7 separate regions of the Homo sapiens genome follow, and regions 1, 3, 4, 5, 6 and 7 are each linked to region 2. Evidence: promoter capture Hi-C in 16 types of primary human blood cells and fetal thymus (Javierre and others, 2016). All regions are on one chromosome and are shown on one strand. Each heading gives the region's core, a stretch centred on a gene start or on the middle of the fragment in contact. The rest is flanking DNA. Distances are from core to core; before and after follow the strand shown. Region 1 holds the start of DNAJB14 (DnaJ heat shock protein family (Hsp40) member B14). Region 2 holds the start of STPG2 (sperm tail PG-rich repeat containing 2). Region 3 has its middle 27 kb from the start of ADH7. Region 4 overlaps DAPP1 (dual adaptor of phosphotyrosine and 3-phosphoinositides 1). Region 5 has its middle 3.0 kb from the start of MTTP. Region 6 overlaps DNAJB14 (DnaJ heat shock protein family (Hsp40) member B14). Region 7 overlaps DAPP1 (dual adaptor of phosphotyrosine and 3-phosphoinositides 1).

Region 1 (2,813 bases), core at 27-2,526, 1.8 Mb before region 2:
GAGTGGGATTGTCAGTTTCTTAGGCTAAGTGTGACCATTTCAGTTTGTACATTGGCTTCGCTTGCTGTGTGACAGCACTGCACTAGTATGCTGTTAGCATGGTGGACTTGGGGAGGGAGAGAATAGGTAGGAATGTCCTGTATATCCACAGAATGAACTCCGAATTTAAACTTTAAAGATAATAGTGCTACGTGCCAGGCCCTGCTTTGAAGTCTGAAGTTGTTAAGTACTCAGTAACATCATTGGGGATATACTATCTCCATTTTATCGAAGAGAAGCAGGGTTTCTTATTTGAAAGTACCGAGTTATGGTAGTTAGCAGAATTAACAGCTTGGCTCACAGCATTATGTAAAAATTGTTACCTTGTGGTTGGGTTGAGCAGGTCATTTTGACAGTTTGTCATGTTTTTTTTTAAAAAATTTGCACATAGCAAACATTCCCCCCACCCCCACCGCGAAGACTAACAAGACACGGTACTTCCAAGTGGTAATGTTATCCAAATGGGACGGAAAAGGTGAAATCAAAAGTTTGCTTTCGTTAGGGCAGCCCCTGAGGGGCTGATTCCTGCCTTGTTTTGGCTACACAGGATTAAGGTCGATCTGCACCACTCGTTGCAAGCTACAAATTAAACTGCTTTGTACTTTGGATAGCCAGACATCCGGGTCAGAAAAAATGTAGCTGAAATAAGGCTGCCATACAAGCCCTAAGATTAGGTTCAAACGACGCTCTAACGTGTCCCGGAAGTGCTGAGACTGGACTGACACCTTGGTCCTCACCTGACCGCATCCTCCCTCGCTTGAGGGGCCCAGAGGCGGAACCTCCAAGTCCTGGCAATTTTACTGAAAACGAGTGTCCCCTTCCCGGACCCTGTCCTCCTGGCCTGAGCTGCGAGGGCCTCGCCTGGAGGTCACAGGGCACGGCGCTACCAATGCCGGCAATCGGGTCCCGGGCGGAACCCCTCCCCGCGATGGGCAGCCCGGCTGCTATCGTCCGCCTCCCGGGCAGGTCCGCTTCGAGCCTGCTGGCGCCGTGCGCGGACCACCGAGTCAGCTCGGACGCCCCGGCCCAGGAGGTTGGTCCTGGGCCGGGACGGATGCGGATCGCGCCCTAGGGGCCCGCGGGGGGCGGGGAGGCCGCCGTGAGGAGGCGGAGCTGCGAGGCCCGCCCGTCCGCCCGGGCCGTCGCAGCCGCTGCCGCGGTCCCCTGCGCTCCTCCCCGCTGCCGCCGCACGCCCCCAGCCGGTCCCGCCTCGCCTCCTCCGCGGCGGCGGCTTCCGCCCTTCTTAGCTGCGCTGCCGGAGGAAACGGAAGAAGGAGCAAGCTATGGAGGGGAACAGGGATGAGGCTGAGAAATGTGTCGAGATCGCCCGGGAGGCCCTGAACGCCGGCAACCGCGAGAAGGCCCAGCGCTTCCTGCAGAAGGCCGAGAAGCTCTACCCACTGCCCTCGGCCCGCGGTGAGACCTCAGCGTCCCTTCTCTTCCTGCCCAATCCCCAGACCACCGCGTAGCCCGCCCCTGCCCCCACCTCGGCCCCTCCTGGAGGCCTGCGGGGCCCCCGGCCTGTCTGAGCCAGCCCCAGCCCCAGGCCCGGTGGGGAGCATCCCGACACACCCCCGCCCTGGCCCCAGCCCCGGCTCCGGGCTGGGGCTCGGGGAATGCTGCGCGAGGTTCCTCTGCACCCGCCTGCCCGCCGGCTCCGCGTTCCGCTGTCCTAAATGTCCGGGTTTCATTCTCCCTGGAGGAGACTTGTCTGGTCCCGTCTTACCACAGTGAGGCTTTATTTGTATCTGTGTTGTTTATGTGGCCCCCTCCCTCCCCATTCTCAGTCCTACATAAGGCCTAGGCCCCTATCGAAGTGAGAGGAATGGTGTACTCTAGTGGCTAATCTCAGATTCCATGTTTCTGAGATCTGTAGAAAACTGTTCCCAAAGCAAACATCGAATACCTGAGATGACATTGCTTTTCCCTGGGAGAGAGTTCCTTTAAAAGAGAAGAGCACACTTTCGGCAAGAATGGTCAAGAGTCAGTAATGATTGCTGAAGAGTATCTGATTTGATAACACCATGATTATCGACGAACCAAATCTCTGAGGAATATGGTACTGGGTTTCCTTTAGTTGAAGTCAGCTTATTTATTTTCCTACTCGATAGGCTTCGGAGTAATAATAGCCAACATTTATTGAGCACAAAGTGCCAATAGTTGTGCCCAACATTTTGCATGGATTATTTCATTTATTCCTCAGAACAATTCTGTGTAGAGGTGCAGGATTCATTTGACCAGGTTTACCCACGTGGAAACAGACTTTCTGATAATTAATGAATGAATTAGCGAATGAATGAAAGTATCTTACCCAAGGTCACACAACAATTAGTAGCAAAGTCAGAATAGTAGCTGAACTTTCAGACTCGAAAAGGCCTTTAACCGCTACACTGTTGCCTTGCCATTAGTATTTCCAGGTTAAGAAGAAAGTTATCGATAGATTCAATTAATTGTAGAAAATTATTAATGAAAATATGGGGCCACTTGTTTTGTTGTCTCTTAAATTTTTTTCTCTACGTCGTTGAAGCCCTGTGCTCTTTGCTTTTCTCTCTATCCTTTCCATTACATTGCCTTCTAACACTATACCCATGAGGACAGGAAAATAAAATGAAAGAAAAGAGTTAATAATTTTTTAAGTTGTGGTTTAAAAACCTGCCAAATTTACGGTCTTAACTATTTTTAAGTGTGCAGTCCATTAGTGAAGTATATTGACATTGTTGTGCAAGGACTCTTCAGAACTTTTTCATCTTACAACACAACTGTGTACTAATCAG
Region 2 (2,747 bases), core at 159-2,658:
GGTATAGGTGGCAGCTTGGAAAATAAGGTTAAAACAACATTGAGAGAATTATGAGGGTTTCTGACAGAATGCAGGGAGAATCGAAGTTGGTGAGATGTTTCCAAAATATTGCAATATTCATTTTCCTACCATTAAAAAAAATCTTTGCCACCTCTCGTTTTGGATTATACGTCTCTTTCCCCATTAGAGAGAGAACACCTGAGGGCAGGGACTTTCTTATGCCTTTGTATCCTCATAACTTAGCAGGGATGGAACCTACAGTATATGCCAATTCGTGTTTTTTAAGTGCATAAATAATTTAGCTAGCTATTGAACAGAAAAAAAGGTACTACAGATACATCCTTGAGAAGCATATAGCCTCGCAAGGAGAGGGTTCCGACCTATATGGCACAATGAAGCCACAGTAAATGTTGCACAGGATTGAGTGGCAAATCGTGTATTACAGAGTATGAAAACTATAAAAACTTGTAGTAGGAACAAATTAACGTACTGTAGACCATTTGGAGGTGAGGTATGATCAAGGTAGGATTTGTCTAAGCCTCTGAGGATATTTATAATCTGGACAGAATTCTTGCTAGAAAAAACAGCCTGCGAGATGCAGAGGTGGATTCTGACATAGATTCCTTAAGCCCCAAGGACAAGCAAGGTTTCTTTTGCCCAAGGTTCAGAATCATTGGTTTGGTGGGGTGGACTGGGCTTTTTCAGTGCCTTCGCTTTGCTTTTTAAATATTGATGAATCAGTATTGTGGTTACCTGGCATACGACAAAAGAGGCAGCTTTCAGTCACTTCCACGGCTTCAGTTGGTGAGCTTTTCGCCTCCTTGCCTGGTGTCCTCATTTCTTTTTTTTTTTTTTTCTTTTTTACCCTTATCTTATTTGTTATTTTTTTTTCTGGGTTCTCCATTTCTTGTCACTGCCCTGAGCCCTGGGTTTGTCTTAGCAGTTTGGACTATCTACAGGTTAAGATCAGAGGTGCCTTTTCTCTGTGAGTACGAGTGGGGCTGCAGTAGAAGCGGGGGAGAGCTTGCGGAACCCCAAGCTCTCTGCTTCATGCTACTGCATTTTTCTTTACTAGGTTCTGTTGAGTCGGGAAGCAGATCAAGGTCAAGTTAGTCCTCACCCTTCCTAACGCGTTTTCTAAGGTTCTTCTGCATACTTAAAAAAGTTCGGGACCTAAGTAGTTACCGGGACCCCAAGAGCTACGAGGTTTAGGCCTGCCTTCTTCAAGGCGCGCCGGGTTCCGGGTAAAAAGAGCCGGGAAAGGGTGGCTGCTCGGTGCGCATGCTCCGAGGGCTCGGCCCAGGAAGGCACCTCCACTTCGCTCCCTAGAGACTGGGCCCGCCTCCTCCCCAGAGACTGGGCCCGCCTCCTCCCCAGGCTTCCGGGCGGAGAGAAGTGGGCGGAGTCAGGGCCGGAAGCACCGGGGCGAGCGTCTAATCCCTAATACCCAATTTTGGTGGCGTGCACCTGGCAAACTGATGATTGTGTGGGACGTCTAATCTCTAGTCGCTCACCCCTCTACTTTACCACAGAGCTAGAAATCGATTTGAGGAAATCTGGTATCAATGAGCGGGCGGGGAGACAACCCCACCCCTAATTTCCCTGTTTACGGAAGTTCTTTCCCGGCCTCCTCAGACTGGTGTCGGCTTCCTTTTTCTCCACACTTCTAGCTACCTTGTTTTTATCGTTTTCGGCACCTGCCCTTCCCCAGCGCCCCCACCACCCCGAGCACTATGTATGATCGGGCTCCCCGCCTGCTCAAATTGGCTGAAGGTGGCAGCACTGAGGCCCATGTGGGTCCTGGATCCTACCAGGTACCTTTCCTGAAGCAGCAGGCGACAGGTAAGATGTAGGAAGAGGCAGAGCTCCTGTGACAGGCATCCTATCTTCAGCCTGCTCCGCTTCTGCGTGCTTGTGAGTTAAACATAGAGCGGAATAGTACCATTTTGTAAACATAACAAAACATGAAGTAGGCAGGGAAAACACTATACTTTTATTTTACAGATGAGACTGATAGTATCACTTGTCCCATTTCAAAAGGCTGGTGAGCATATGGCTAGGACTTTTGATTCCGCAATAGTTGTCTACATCCTACTTTTGATTGTGCAGTTTAGGTCTAGGATTTTGATTTCCTGGCTGTGTTGACATAATATATGAGTCTCCAAATCCTGTGCCCTTACCTCCCGCTGTCTCGTTGCTTTGTAATCCTGCCTGCCTCACATCTTTCCTCCCATTAACCAGAGACATTTATTTATTAAGATGTAGCTTATATTTCTATTTTGCAGTATTATTTAAAGATAGTTCCGTTTTTTTTTCAGACAGATTTTTCTGACCGTCCTCATCTCTTTTAACACACTTCAGGGGAGCCCCTTTTCTCCACATTCTGTAAAGAAAAATTATATTTTTGACCAGTGGAGTGGGGATGGATAATTTAAATAATATTTGCTCTCCTCGTTTGTTTGCAGTTAGTGACTTAGTCAAAAATAAATACATCAATTTTGCTTTCTACTTTTTCTATTCTGGTGATTTTCTGGAGCTTAATACCGTCCAAATGATAGTTTTTCTTAACCTACATTTTCCCCATACCTACACTATGTATTTTCAAGCAAATGCCAGGATCCATTATTCTGTTACATAACTGATCAGATAAGGGAAGGTTTAGGTTTCTTGGGGTGGAGTACAAATTTGACTTCTGTCAGTGTTTCACATGTTGAATTGTACTGCTTCACAGTATCTGGTATCACTAT
Region 3 (2,700 bases), core at 72-2,571, 1.3 Mb before region 2:
ATACATTTACCTCAATAATCAGCTTCCTTATGTATATTTCCCAAAGATAATGTGATTTGATTAGTGCCAAAATTGATATGAAATTATTTTAATTTAGAGGAAGAAAAGGACTATATAGAAATAGCATTCCCAAGAGTACCCTCTTGCCCACGACTTCAACTCCAGTCTCTGCAAAGATTTCTTTCACCAGCAATTTCTTTTTTGTTTCTCATTGCTATTTACATCTAAAATTATTTATATTTTTATGTAATAAGTAACTAACCAAGGCCCCATAAACTAGTTTATAGTATTCATCTTCTTCATGCATAGGTATTTGTCCATTTTTTTATTCCTTACTCCCTCACAGAGTTAGATTCCCTTCATTAAGGAAAATCTCGATTACCTAGGCCACCAGCTTTAGGTTCCAGTAGTTCTTTCCACCATGTATCTGACTTTGTCTGTTACCCTATAGGGTACAGAAAAGTGACGGATGCCTTCACTGAAAGTCCATTCCGTTTTACATGTAAAGTGTCAGAAGATAAGAATTATGTTCTAAGTTCTTTCTCAAAACAGTACCTAGTATTAATAGAACGTTTTGTGCCCAATGGACACTACGCAAACATTCTTAGCTGATTTAACAATTGAATTGAGAAGATTATGTATTTCTGGCTGTGTCACGTGTCCAGCTCATTAAATGCATCTTCATGTTAGCCAAAGAATTGAGTGAAATAATAAAGCATGTTTTTGGCAACAGCTCTTTCAGGTAGTCAAATTTTTAATTTTAAATTTGGATTTATTTTTCTGTTTGGTAAACCAATGAGACTTACACTTCAGATTCAAGTCAACATTTTAATTAATGTTTACTAGCATTAGGACAAATACCTAATGCATCTGGGGCTTAAAACCTAGATGACGGGTTGATAGGTGGAGCAAACCACCATGGCACATGTATACCTATGTAACAAACCTGTACGTACTGCACATGTATCCCAGAACTTAAAGTAAAATTTAAAAAAATAATAAGGCTTACTTGAATTTGCAATGGTATATTTGAAAAAAAAAATGGATATGTTGTTTTAATTTCACTAGCATTTTACAAATTTCAATGCAAGTTTTGGCAAAGAACCACATAGTTACATAACTACCTGGCATGCATCATTTTAGTACTATTTATTCAGAAAGGCCTTTTATAAAACAAACTTTCCTGCCAAAAAATAGGAAGTACAAATATTGTACTCTGATTGTGTATTACAACTTGTCAAAAGTGTGATGTGGTGACCTAATTCAGGAGGCCTGGGTTTGATTACAACTCTACCTCCAATTAAAACTCACAGTAGCTATTTTCTGAAGTCTGATATAGCATTCTCAAAGGTTCTAACTAGAATGAGGTTTCTTTTTTATTATTAATAACTTTTCTGTACCTACTATGGTTTTGAGAGGGTTTCTGAAATTGTCATAAAATTGGTTATTGGTTTTCCTTTACCTTCCAAAAGAAGACTGAGGGGTGTCTCCCTAAGGAAGAAAAGGTGCTAAAGCACTTGCAATTTGCTGCTTCAAACTAGGAGACTTATCTAGTGCATTTGTTCTAGAAAATTAGAATCATAGACATAGTCTCTCCTGGAAGACACTGAAAGTTCTAGGAAGCACTTGGCTACATTTGAAAGAAACACTCAAAAGAGATAGCTTAATCGAAGATGAAATCCCTCGGAAGAAACAAGAGAGGACTCGGTTCTAGGACCTCAGTCCCAGCACCATCAGGAAACCTTATTTTATCCCTATCTGCTTAGAGGATGCTTGGTATGGCAGAATTCTAATCCTACTTTGGGGTGTTGTCCCTTTGAAACTTAAAAGTATTGAAACAATCAATTCTCTCTTCCTCTTCCCTGCTAGCTTGTTGCCCTAGTTCATTCCTTTATCTCTTGCCCATATTCCTGCAATAACCACCGAATGCATGTCCCTGCCTACTGTAGAATGGCCTTGGAATTAATTTGAATGGCTTATTCAAATCCCCCAATCCCACCCATGGGAATGCTAAATTCAGCACTCTCTTCCTCTGTGCTTTAAATACATAAAGGATTTTTGAGAGCAAAGGAGAAAGCAGCATCACACTCATTCTCCACTGATATGGTTAGGCTTTGTGTCCCCACCCAAATCTCATCTTGAATTATAATTCCCATAATCCCCATAATCCCTATATGTCAAGGGACAGACCAGGTGGAGGTAACTGAATCATGGGGACAGTTTCCCCATGCTGTTCTCGTGATAGTGAGTGAGTTCTCATGAGATCTGATGGTTTCATAAAGGGCTCTTCCTTCTTTGCTCTTCTCCTTCCTGCTGCCTTGTGAAGAAGGTGCCTTGTTTCCACTTTGCCTTCTGCCATGATTGTAAGTTTCCAAAGCCGTGCTGAACTGTGAGTCAGTTGAATCTCTTTCCTTTATAAATTACCCATCCTTGGGCAGTTCTTTATAGCAGTGTGAGAATGAACTAATACATCCACATTCTCTCACTTCAAGCCTTAGAGCAGGATACCTCACGGTCCCAGCATGGACAGGATGTGTAGAATGTAGAGGAGATGCTCTGTTCATTGTGACCAGCTCTGCTTGAGCCCCAGCAGATTCTTGTTCATGTAGGAGAGAGGGGAATAGACCACCACCTGAAAAGGATGGAGGTAATGCCAAACACCTAGGCGTAGGTTTTATCTCTGCCCTCCTTCTTTCCATC
Region 4 (2,700 bases), core at 191-2,690, 1.7 Mb before region 2:
TTGTAGCAGAAATTCTTCCAAATTTATTAAAGGCCATGCTGTGCCATGGCAGCAATGTATTGCAGTGTCGCTGTAGGACCAATTTCAAGAGATAGCAAGGTGCCTGGAAAGCATCTATGCTTCAGGACCAGGTTAGCCCAGATTCCAATCTCAGCTCTGAGTTCTTCCAAATCCATTTAAGGCCACACTGTACCATGGCAACAATGTACTGTTATTGTGGGACCAGTTTCAAAAGATAGCAAGGTGCATGGAAAGCATCTATGCTTTAGAACCAGATTAGCCCAGATTCCAATCTCAGCCCTGATGTTTACCAGCAGTGAAAACTTGGGCAAGTGACTTAAAACCTCTGAGTTTTCCTTTCCTCATCTGAAAATAGGACCGTTGTATGCATTATTGTGGGTGGCTGAGATGAAATAAGTTGATGTAGGTGAATGCCTGGAACCTAGCAAACACTCTAAAAATGTTGGCTTAATTCCCTTCCTCAGCTGCTTTTTCCTTTTTCGAATAAAACTCATCTATAAACTGAGAACATTTTGTATTTTTGGCAAACATCCAAGGAAGTTTGGAAAAATTCTAAGTTGTCACTAGTTGTTTTCTGAAGAACCACCCAATTCTCAAATTAAAATTAATTTTAACCACATTATTTAAAAATATCACCTGGGTGGTGTCACAAAACAAAATAATAATAGCGGTAGCTGTCGTCAAAAGATTGGGAATCCCCATATCAAAACAAAAAGAGAAATGGAGATTTGACATTTACCAAAAAACCAGATGAGATCTTTAAAATTGGGAACCAATTATTATAAAGGGTAAGCACAAACATAGAACTTGACTTGTATTATATTTTTTCATGCCTGTTAGGTGATTACAGTCACAATACAATGTAATAAATTATACATGGCAATTTCATGTTAAGAATTATTGAAACATAAACAAAAGGTAATGGTAAAAGTAATTTTTTGTTCTAATCATATTTAGACATTTAAGCATAAAGATAAATGCCGTCTACATTTTCAAGACTATATATATGAAACTTAGCTAATTACAAGAGGCTACGACAAAATTAATAATGGACCAAACATATTTATACTAATAAAAAAGTTTCTCAAATTTTCAAGTCTATTTGAGTTTAGTTTAGAGTTCATGCACAGACATGAATATGTTTTATTTGATATCCTACTATTGAGACAGAAAAACTCCAACCGGCCTGCCCACTGAGGTGAAGCCTTAGGAAGTTCGTGTCCTTTGCAGTGGGGAGGAGCCTGGCCCCTCCTCTTCCTGTGAGGAACATAGAATTCAAACTGCTGGGCAGGAAGCGCTCTAGCTTCCCTGTTTCCCTCTTTTCTTTCTTTTCATCCAATAAAACCCTGCTTCACTCACCCTTCAAACCGTCTGCGAGCCTAAATTTTTGTGGCCGTGGGATGGAGAGGGACCCGATCTTTAGCTGAACTAAGGAAAAGTCCTGCAACACTATCACAAATGAAAGGCAAATTCTGAATTTAATCATCACTGAGCATACATGCAACACAAAATATCATTTCAAATTATGTTTTTATAAACTTTGAAAGTTAAAATTGTCACAAGTTTGCTAGTTTTGATGTTGCCATGCAAAAAACTGCAATGCAGGCATTGGAAATGGGGCATCCAGCATGACATATTGTGGAAATGATCAGTACTTATTTTTTCAGGTCCTGGGACATAGCAGGAAGCAAAGCTGACAAAAGTCCCTTTCTTCATGGAGTTCACACACTAGTGTGGAAAAAAAGGTATTTTTTTAAAAAACATAAGTGAATTATAGATGTCAGAAGGTAAAAGGGCCATTGAGAAAAATAAAGCAAGAGAGTACATTGTATATCTCTATCATGTACTTGGGAAATTATTAGGTTTTGAGAATTGGAAGTATCTTAAGAGTGTTTATGGGTATTGATAAAAAGAAATTAGAGTGAACAGAAACTTTAATGGAGATTAGAGAGATGAAATAGAGATTATGGCAAGGGAAAGGGAAATTATCATAAAATACTCTTAAAGTTGTCAAGAGGCTTAGATGTTGCTTAGGAAATCCTTGCTTTTCAGATTAGCAAACAGAAATCCTAAAAGTGTAAAGAGTAGGGAATAGAAAAAAAAGATATCTTAAAATAGCATTAATCCCCTTAGGTCAACACTTTTATCTATTTTGAGTGCAAAAATGTTCTTACGACCCAAAATCAAATATTCTGGGTTTCACTCTACTGAAGGCATTATATATAACTGCAAGGCAAAAGTGTAAAGTTTTGGCTATTTGGATATCATTTCTGTTGCCCTCAAAGGTAATACCACTTGTGCCAGTAGATAAATGTATTATAAGAAAGTCACTCTTTAATAAACTTACCCTCTAGACCCTGCAGGGTGAGGCTGGGCCTGGGTGGGGTCTGGCTGAGAGCAGTGGCCTGAAATATCCAATTCTAGTCCTTGTCATTCTGGTAATCTGAAGTTGAGAGCCCTGGGAGGGGCTTGTCCATTGTGTGGACAAATGCTTTTCCTGGTGATGTTAATCAAACATAAGCTATAAGAAATATCTGTACTTCTGGCGTGAACCCGGGAGGCGGAGCTTGCAGTGGGCCGAGATCGCGCCACTGCACTCCAGCCTGGGCGACAGAGCGAGACTCCGTCTCAAAAAAAAAAAAAAAAAGAAAGAAATATCTGTACTTCATCTGAAGGTGA
Region 5 (2,700 bases), core at 12-2,511, 1.4 Mb before region 2:
GGTGCATGATACGTGCCCTTCGGGTAAAGTACTATTCGTTGTCAAGTGTTTTCCAGAGTCCAACCAATAAAAGACATATCACTATTGCCTAACAAACTAAATTCTATTTCATTTGAGCATTTGATTTCCACTAGAAAGCTCCTATGAGTCACTGTATTAAGTAGCAATTTCAACATAAGATGTTCAAATAAGGCTGCTTCTGCTGGTTATAAATAACATCATCCTTTTATAAAATATAAACATAACTTTTTTCTTTTTACAAGGACATTTTAGAAAAGACTTCTGGAGATTGTTTCATTACAGATGACATAAGAATGCCAAAGCCTTTCCAAATTCAGTAAACTCTGTGTATCGAAGAAGTATGCTCTTCTGTTACTGTTGATCGTCCACAGCAAACACTGTGCAAACATGTGAGCACTACCTCCTAAAACTCACCAGCTATTTTACATAATATGTGAAGCAGGGCAGAAGCAAAGCACAGTAAAAAAACAAGAGCTGCCATCTATGGAACAATTACATACTTTGTTAATCACCTTACGTTTTTATAATAATCCTTACAACAGTCATTTGACATATTAGAAAAATGAGTCTCAGATTAATTTACTGAAGTGATATTAGGACTACAGAAAAATAAACCTTGAAACCTAGACCCAAGTATTCTTCTTTGCTTAAAAAAAATTACAGGTGGGGAGTGAGAAAAAAATTGATTTCTTACAGATGACATGCAATTGTTAATTGGGACTGTCTTCATAATAAGTCATCACAATTTTGTATGAAAACTAACAGAGCCCTTGATTTTTGTGAAATTGTGGTTAGACATTCAGGCTGAACATACAGGGGTAAAACTGATCTATGATAGTTAGATCAAAATCAAATGATACATTTCAAAACAATGCTATTGCAATGAAATTCCTTAGGTAGTACATGACACTGTGAAATATTTGCTATACTTCCATTTGCATTGATAAATAAGGAGACTATGAAATAAAGATGGATGATTAATTCCAAAGTACAGTTGTGTTTCTGTTGAGTGTCAGAGGTTGTCAGGAGTTAACGTATTTTCTTAGATTAGAAGACAAATGAACTTCACCCCACTAAAGGTTGGAAGGAAATGTATTACCCTACTAGATATAGAAAGTCAGGATGTATGAAAGCTATGTGAAAAAACAGTCTGTTTATAACATTGAAACACTTTGTTCTTAGAAAGAAGCATGACATTAATGAAAAAAAAATTTAGAAGGACACTTTAAGTTATCCCTACATGGTCATAATAGTTTAAACTCTAAAAGTATTTTCAAATCAATGAGGGAGTTAGCATTTTGAAAGAATCTTGAAAAAATTTCTTAAGTTAAAAATATTCTTAATGTGATGACTTTTTTTATTCCAAGGCAAAATTATATAGGAATACATACAATATTTTGAAAGGTATTGTTTAAAAATTCTCTACGAGAAAATAAAGATTCACTGAATTCCTTATCAAAAGCAAACTTGGTTTGAAACACTGGGAATCTAAAACTCCAAAAAGAACATTCATTTTTCCAAAATAGAGTCACTAACCAAATTTTCTACCCCCTATACATATATACGCACATACAAATTTGACAACAACCAAAAAAATCCTTTGTATCATATCAGTTACCATAAAAGGATTCTAAATTATCTTTGACCACACAAAACTGAATTGCTAGCATTTAAAGGAGAGAATTGATGTAAACTCTTTTAGTAGACTACTGTAAATACAATAAGATTTTAATTTTGATCAGAATAAATTTATCAGACATTTAAAAAAAGAAATTTCAAAACCTAAAATATAATAATATCCAAGTATAAATGCAATTTTCCTTTTAAAGTATATACGATACAACAATTACATTTATGAACTAATTCTTAATATGTAGATATAAAAATATGAATTTATTTGAAGTGGAACAAGAAGCCAATTGTTTTAAATAATTACCAAAATAAGAAAATAAAAAATGTTAAAGAGAGGTCAAGAGATATAGAGGATAGAGTGAGTGGTGCAAAGGCAATATTTGGGGAATATATTTGAAGAATTTCCAAGAACTATTGAAAGGCACTGTATCAGTTCTCCATAGCTACCATAACAAATTACCACAAAACTTAGTGGCTTAAAACAGCAGATTTATTGTCTTATACTCTTGGAGGTCAGAAGTCTAACACTGGTCTCACAGGGATAAAATGAAAGTATTGGCAGGTGTATCCCTTTCTGGAGGCTTTAGGGGAGAATTTGTTTCTTACCTTTTCTAGCTTCTAGAAGCTACCTGCATTCCTTGACTCGTGGTCCCTTCCTGCATTTACAAATCCAGCAAGAGTAAGCTGAATCCTTTTTACTTCATATCACTCTGACCATCTCTTCTGTCTCCCTCTTCCGTTTTATGAATCCTTGTGATTATACTGGGCCTGCCTAAATAATCCAGGATAATCTTTTTACCCTGAGGTCTGTGGATTGGTAACTTTAATTTCATCTACAACCTTAACTTAGACTATCACAGGTTCTGGAGATTAAGACATTTAAGATCTTTGGGGAGCCATTGTCTGCCTATCACAGATACCAATCCACAGATTCACGAGGCTCAATAAGTCTTAAGCAGGATAATTTTTAAAACACACATACACACAAGTAGATACATCATAATTAAACTGCAGAATATCAGAGAGAGAGAGAAGATATTTAAAGGA
Region 6 (2,700 bases), core at 185-2,684, 1.8 Mb before region 2:
ATTTAACACATGACATGCTAATGTTACTTAATGGATTCCTATGTATTTCATTAAAAAAAAGTCTCCCACCTGTGTTAAGACAGCTAAATATTTCTTGATGTTGGCTTGAGGACCAAGTGAGCCATCTTGCCAGTTAAGCAAGTTTTATATCAGAGGACCAAATGGTTAAGAAGAGAATTTGTACATTTCTTGAGCTTCCCCATGTGAAGCTTGGGTTCAGTACTATCCTATTACTATCCATCTTCATAATGAGTGAAGCAAACTGAAAGGGAATTCATAATCTTTTTTCTTATCTGAACAGAAAAACTAATGAAAATCAACAATAAATCTTTATTTTAATTTTCATTCAACAGCTGAAAAACCATGTCTGTTGACCACATTGGACCATTGCCTAGTTAAAATCCATAAAATTCCCTATAAACCAATGAAAAGAAACTTGTCTGGCAATAATTTCCAACATTTTAAATTCTAATTTTTAGTTACAAAGAAAAAGGATAGAATGAGGCTTTTCAAGGAATTCTTGCTCATCCCTTCAATTATTTGGCAGGTAAAACAGTCCTAGAATTCAGCTTCCTTTTTGGTTTTATTACTATTAAATAGATACTTTCATATAAATGGAAACACTTTTCCTCAAAACATTAATTCAAAACATACTCCTTATATTAAGGATTATAGCACCATATTTTTTGTATATTCCCTATGTGTAACTTTTTCCTGTTGGTATGTGATATTTTTCATTTAATATGACTATCTGCTGGTGTTGGGGCCAATAGATTTGTGAATATTCTGTGGATGTGTCTATGTATAGGTGTATATATATATATATATATTTTTTTTTTTTTTTCCCAGCTAATTACCTCAAATGTGTGATTGTTTAATATATACCACACTATGTTTGCACAGAGCAGGGCTTCCATTAGCAGTGGATATTTTTATGTCTGACTTTGAAAATCAGTCAACACAATTTCATTGGTGTGAATTATTTGTTGCTCTTTTTCATATTTTAATGGAGAGATTCCTATTATAAGGCCCATGCTTCAAACATAATTATATCTTTCTATATCCAGCCATCTGGAAATACATAGGGGTAAGAAGTATTTCTTGAAATGTCCTTGTTTAGTAAGTTAGTAAAAACTGGGATGACTAGTTGCCAAGATGTCTTGTAACTGCATAGCAGATGACACCTGGCATGGCAAGTCTCATTCACTTCAGCACAACACTCTGTACATTTCAGTCTGATATTCTACTTTGCCATTTAAGGACACCATTAAAATCATAGAGATTTTCAGTGACATTGGAGTATTGTAATTATTACTTTCAAAAAATTATTTTTAATAGGATGATTAAACCAATGAGAAGAAACACACATAAATGATATTTTGCAGTTTATCTGTATTAAGAAATGCTTCTTGCCAATTTCTAGTTTTAGTTTTTGGATTGCTACATAAGACTTTCTTTCCATTTACTTTATGTGTTTTTAAAAGCTGCAGGTAATTTTTAAGGTTTGATGGAATTATAATGGAAGCCTTGTATAAGTTAAATGAAATTGGTAAAGGAGAGCTTACTTTGTCTATAATGCATTCAGGATTAAAAATTAGATTTCAAAATGAAATGTCTGATTTGTAAAATATTTAATGTTATATCAGACTTACATAAAATTTTCTGTGAGAACTCAAATGCATTTGATTTTTAATGAATGTTCTGAATGAAATATGAATTTTTGTCTTTCAGTCTCTGTAGTTTATCTCAATATATTAATAAAAAGGTCTGTTCTCACTGTAAAATGTTTGTTTTTATCATGTTTTATACTCAATATGGCCACTCTTTCATTCATTCAACTATTCAACAAGTATGTCAATGCTTGCTATATCCCAGGCAGTGAGCTGGGTGCTGGGAATTAATCACTGAATAAGAAAGACAAAAACCTTAAAGAGTTTACATCTAGCAAAGAAAATAAATATCAAGTAAATAATTATAATTATGATAAATTCTACAAAGAAAATTACAGGGTACAATGAAAGCATTTATCTAGAAGACCTAAACTATTCAGTGAGGGTCAGGGAAGGCTTCTCTGAGAGTGAGTTTAAGCCAAAATGCAAAAGATGAGATTAGTAGGATTAAGGTATGCTAGAGAAATATCTCAGGCAGAACGTGCTAAGTTGGTAAAGTGATAAAAATCTTTATGGAAGTGAAAACAAACTTGTATGATCATAGCATAAGGAATCCAGGGTAGGTGAGAGAATTAAGATAGGGGCCAGATCCCCATAAGAATGATATATAAACCATGATGCTGATATTGAACTTTATCCTAAGTCAATAAACTTGATTTTCAAGGAAGGAGTTAAATGATGTGATTTGGGTCTTTAGAACATCATTTTTGTTGCTGTGTGGAGACTGGAGGGCAAAAGAGAATGTAAGAAGAATAGGAGGTTGTTGTCAAAAGAGAGATGATCATGGCTTGGAGTAGGGTAGGAATATAGATAGGTGAATAGTTTTCAAAGATAGGAGGTAGAATCAACAGAACTCTGATTAGATTTGTGACATATGGAAGCAGCAATTGAAAACCAGGCTAAAGTTTTCTGAAAATTTGGCTATGAAAGGGAGTAGAGGAAAAACAGTGTGGTAGCTGAAAGAGGATGCGATTTCTAAAGAAGCTTTTCTTTTGAGGGTCTCGCTCTGTCACACAAGCTGGAGTTCAGT
Region 7 (2,700 bases), core at 58-2,557, 1.7 Mb before region 2:
TAAGGCAGCCCGAGAATGCATTAGTTTCTTCACAATTGCATCACATAGCTGATTCACACTGGACTTACTGTTGATTAAAACTTCCAATTAGGTCATTTCCTTCATCTGCACTTATAAGTGTGATGGTGTTTTTTGTTTTGTTTTTTTGTTGTTTTTTTTTTGAGACGTAGTCTGACTCTGTTGCCCAGGCTGGAGTGCAGTGGCTCGATCTCGGCTCACTGCAAGCTCTGCCTCCCGGGTTCACGCCATTCTCCTGCCTCAGCCTCCCGAGTAGCTGGGACTACAAGTGCCCACCACCACACCTGGCTAATTTTTGTATTTTTAGTAGAGACGGGGTTTCACCTTGTTAGCCAGGATGGTCTCGATCTCCTGACCTCGTGATCCGCCCGCCTCAGCCTCCCAAAGTGCTGAGATTACAGACCGCGCCCAGCCAAGAGTGATGGTTTTAAAATCAGGTGCAATAAGAAACTTTTTACTACTGGGAAGTGTCAAGTGAAAAGAGTTGCTAATGAGCAGCCAACATGGACCACACACAACCTCAGGCCCCTCCCTCAACCTGCTAAGTCCCACGTGATTGTTATGCACTTTAGAGTTTGAGGAGCATGTATGGGAAGGACTCTTGGGCCTGAAAACTTTAATTCACTTCAATAATGTGAACAGTTTGAGTTCACAGAATTTGGCATTTGAAGAGAAGGGCAAAGCAAAGTACTAAGTGACTTTTCAGTACCAACAGAATGGAAAAGAGAAGGATCTGCAGGTTAACATAGAAGAATCACCAAATAGCTGCTATCTTAGTGATATGGACAGTAAATATTATAGCATAGGAAGGGGAGCTCACAGTGGGCTGGAATGATCAGGGAAAACTTCATGGAGCGGGAGAATGATAAACTGCAGTATGAAGAATGAATATAGGATTCATTAGGCAGTGAGAGGCATTCTGAGAGGAGAAATGACATAAGCAAAGGCACTGGAGTGGACATGGGCTTGGTGTGCATGGGCAACCAAATGCCTAGCTGGAGCACAGGGTCCCTGTTGGGAAGTGGTGCAAAATAATTCTGGAAGAACTGGTGGACACAGAAAGCAATCTTGCACTTTAAAACACATGCCACACATCCATTTAGATAGTATATTTCTTGATGACAAAATGTCTTAGTAACTCATGTCTACAGATTATTCACATATTTAATGATATATTTTTCCCTGCCTGGAAAAGATACATGAAATAGAACCTCAATTCTGTTTCATCAGAGTTATAAAGAGGACATATATTTCAACGCAAAGTGGGAAAAAAACTCCTGATTGTGTTAAAACAGCCAAAATGCCCTGGAGTTGAACAGCCAACAAAAGCATTCTTCTTTAGAAAATTTTCTCTTATTTCATTTTCAAAGTTGTTCTCACTTTTATATGACACTGACACCCCTCTGAACTATCTAGACCAAAGATGACAAATGCATAACATATGTGCCACACCCCTTCTCTAAGTTCATACATGGCACAGCTAATTGATGTGTCTTTCTTGCTGAGCCTATACTTAGCCTCACAATCTTTCTGAACACAACAGTGATAGAACAAAGATGAATCTATTAGGCGTTCACACTCTAAGGTTTAATCTGTTCTTACCACTTGAACTATTCCATGGGATTCCTTGGCTGCTGATTTCATTCATGCTCATTTGTTCATAGGGTCGGTGCTAGATACTTTGATTTTGTGAAAGGTAAAGTGTTTGGCCCTCTATGCCATTAGAAATCATGGGTTTAGGGTGTCTTATGTAACTCAAGAGCTACCAGTGCTGTAATTTATATTAGAATCAGGTTGTGACATATCTAAGAAAGATGGTGTTGCCCACACAAGCCCATTAAGTCACATGTTCACAAGTGTGGGCTTATTTTTCCATTGATAATAGCAATGGACCCTGTTCAAATAGAGGGAATCAAGCCGAAGCCTTATAAAGGATTTTGGAAGTTCTTACATGGTCTCAGACAGGTGTAGTGTGATATACAGGGGAGGCCAAAGAAAGATTCTCTAGAGTCTCTCCAATAGAGACGTTTCTGTGATGGAACCAGCAGGGCTGTATCTTTCAAAATTGCTTTTCTAAATGCCCATGTTTACATGAGCTAAGAGCAGAGCTAAATGGTGAGACCAGCTGCCCCAGGCTTTAGAAAACAGACCTGAGTGATGACAGAGGCGGAGCATGCAAATATCTCATTGATCTGTGAGTTAAAGGCAGGTCCCAAGTTTTTTGGTGGGAGTCAAGGCTCAGCTAATGGAAATCAAAACTGAAAGGGAGGAGAGAATTCTGTAGGAGTTTGAGATCAGGATGAACCTGTTCTTGAAGAAGTCTGAGAAATGATGCAAGAAGCTCTGGAAGACGAAAACACAGAGACAGACAGACATGGAGACTCAGAGATTCAGAGACAGAGTGGCACAAAGTCTCAGAGACACAAAAGTCAAAGAGCTGCAGACAGACGGATAGAAAGATAGAGACACAAAACTCAAGAGACCAAGATAGACTCGCCAGCTCACACAGATAGCCAGAAGCACATGGGGACAGAGACTTAGGGAATGCACATGCAGACCCAAAGAGTGATCCAGGAGACAGGGGCAGAGAAAACAATGAAAGATAAAGATGTCTTTAAAGATAAAGAAAAATCCACAGAGCCTGACTCAGAGATGGACCAACATACCCAGGGAAGTCAGATT

The links. Contacts are between HindIII fragments. The CHiCAGO score rates a contact against its expected background, and 5 or more counts as called.
Region 1: a contact is called between the fragment with the promoter of DNAJB14 here and the fragment with the promoter of STPG2 in region 2, in 6 of 17 cell types (neutrophils, monocytes, total CD8 T cells and 3 more). The highest score is 12.9, in neutrophils.
Region 3: a contact is called between a fragment that was not itself captured here and the fragment with the promoter of STPG2 in region 2, in 13 of 17 cell types (naive CD4 T cells, M2 macrophages, naive B cells and 10 more). The highest score is 11.5, in naive CD4 T cells.
Region 4: a contact is called between a fragment that was not itself captured here and the fragment with the promoter of STPG2 in region 2, in 1 of 17 cell types (neutrophils). The highest score is 5.3, in neutrophils.
Region 5: a contact is called between a fragment that was not itself captured here and the fragment with the promoter of STPG2 in region 2, in 1 of 17 cell types (neutrophils). The highest score is 5.9, in neutrophils.
Region 6: a contact is called between a fragment that was not itself captured here and the fragment with the promoter of STPG2 in region 2, in 1 of 17 cell types (monocytes). The highest score is 7.3, in monocytes.
Region 7: a contact is called between a fragment that was not itself captured here and the fragment with the promoter of STPG2 in region 2, in 1 of 17 cell types (neutrophils). The highest score is 7.0, in neutrophils.

The regions. Positions count from the first base shown.
Region 1 is chr4:99,945,081-99,947,893 of GRCh38, reverse strand. DNAJB14 (DnaJ heat shock protein family (Hsp40) member B14) reads left to right here and starts at 1,276. Exons shown (of 8, transcript NM_001031723.4): 1 at 1,276-1,455. The coding sequence starts at 1,323. RefSeq lists a silencer at 1,013-1,672 and an enhancer at 1,843-1,892. The HindIII fragment of the contact is 11,087 bases long and covers 1-2,813 here.
Region 2 is chr4:98,142,137-98,144,883 of GRCh38, reverse strand. STPG2 (sperm tail PG-rich repeat containing 2) reads left to right here and starts at 1,408. Exons shown (of 11, transcript NM_174952.3): 1 at 1,408-1,842. The coding sequence starts at 1,734. RefSeq lists an enhancer at 1,582-1,681. The HindIII fragment of the contact is 14,460 bases long and covers 1-2,747 here.
Region 3 is chr4:99,407,031-99,409,730 of GRCh38, reverse strand. No RefSeq gene overlaps it. Among named protein-coding and RNA genes, the nearest start is that of ADH7, 27 kb to the left of the region's middle. RefSeq lists a cis regulatory region at 1,004-1,345 and an enhancer at 1-2,700. The HindIII fragment of the contact is 3,083 bases long and covers 1-2,700 here.
Region 4 is chr4:99,842,821-99,845,520 of GRCh38, reverse strand. The region is part of intron 3 of DAPP1 (dual adaptor of phosphotyrosine and 3-phosphoinositides 1); the gene reads right to left. Among named protein-coding and RNA genes, the nearest start is that of DAPP1, 27 kb to the right of the region's middle. The HindIII fragment of the contact is 3,832 bases long and covers 1-2,700 here.
Region 5 is chr4:99,570,425-99,573,124 of GRCh38, reverse strand. It overlaps a transcript of MTTP not described here. Among named protein-coding and RNA genes, the nearest start is that of MTTP, 3.0 kb to the left of the region's middle. The HindIII fragment of the contact is 9,913 bases long and covers 1-2,700 here.
Region 6 is chr4:99,895,332-99,898,031 of GRCh38, reverse strand. DNAJB14 (DnaJ heat shock protein family (Hsp40) member B14) reads left to right here. Exons shown (of 8, transcript NM_001031723.4): 8 at 1-1,784. Among named protein-coding and RNA genes, the nearest start is that of LAMTOR3, 2.3 kb to the right of the region's middle. The HindIII fragment of the contact is 2,445 bases long and covers 212-2,656 here.
Region 7 is chr4:99,824,994-99,827,693 of GRCh38, reverse strand. All of the region lies in intron 1 of DAPP1 (dual adaptor of phosphotyrosine and 3-phosphoinositides 1), which reads right to left. Among named protein-coding and RNA genes, the nearest start is that of DAPP1, 9.5 kb to the right of the region's middle. The HindIII fragment of the contact is 3,328 bases long and covers 1-2,700 here.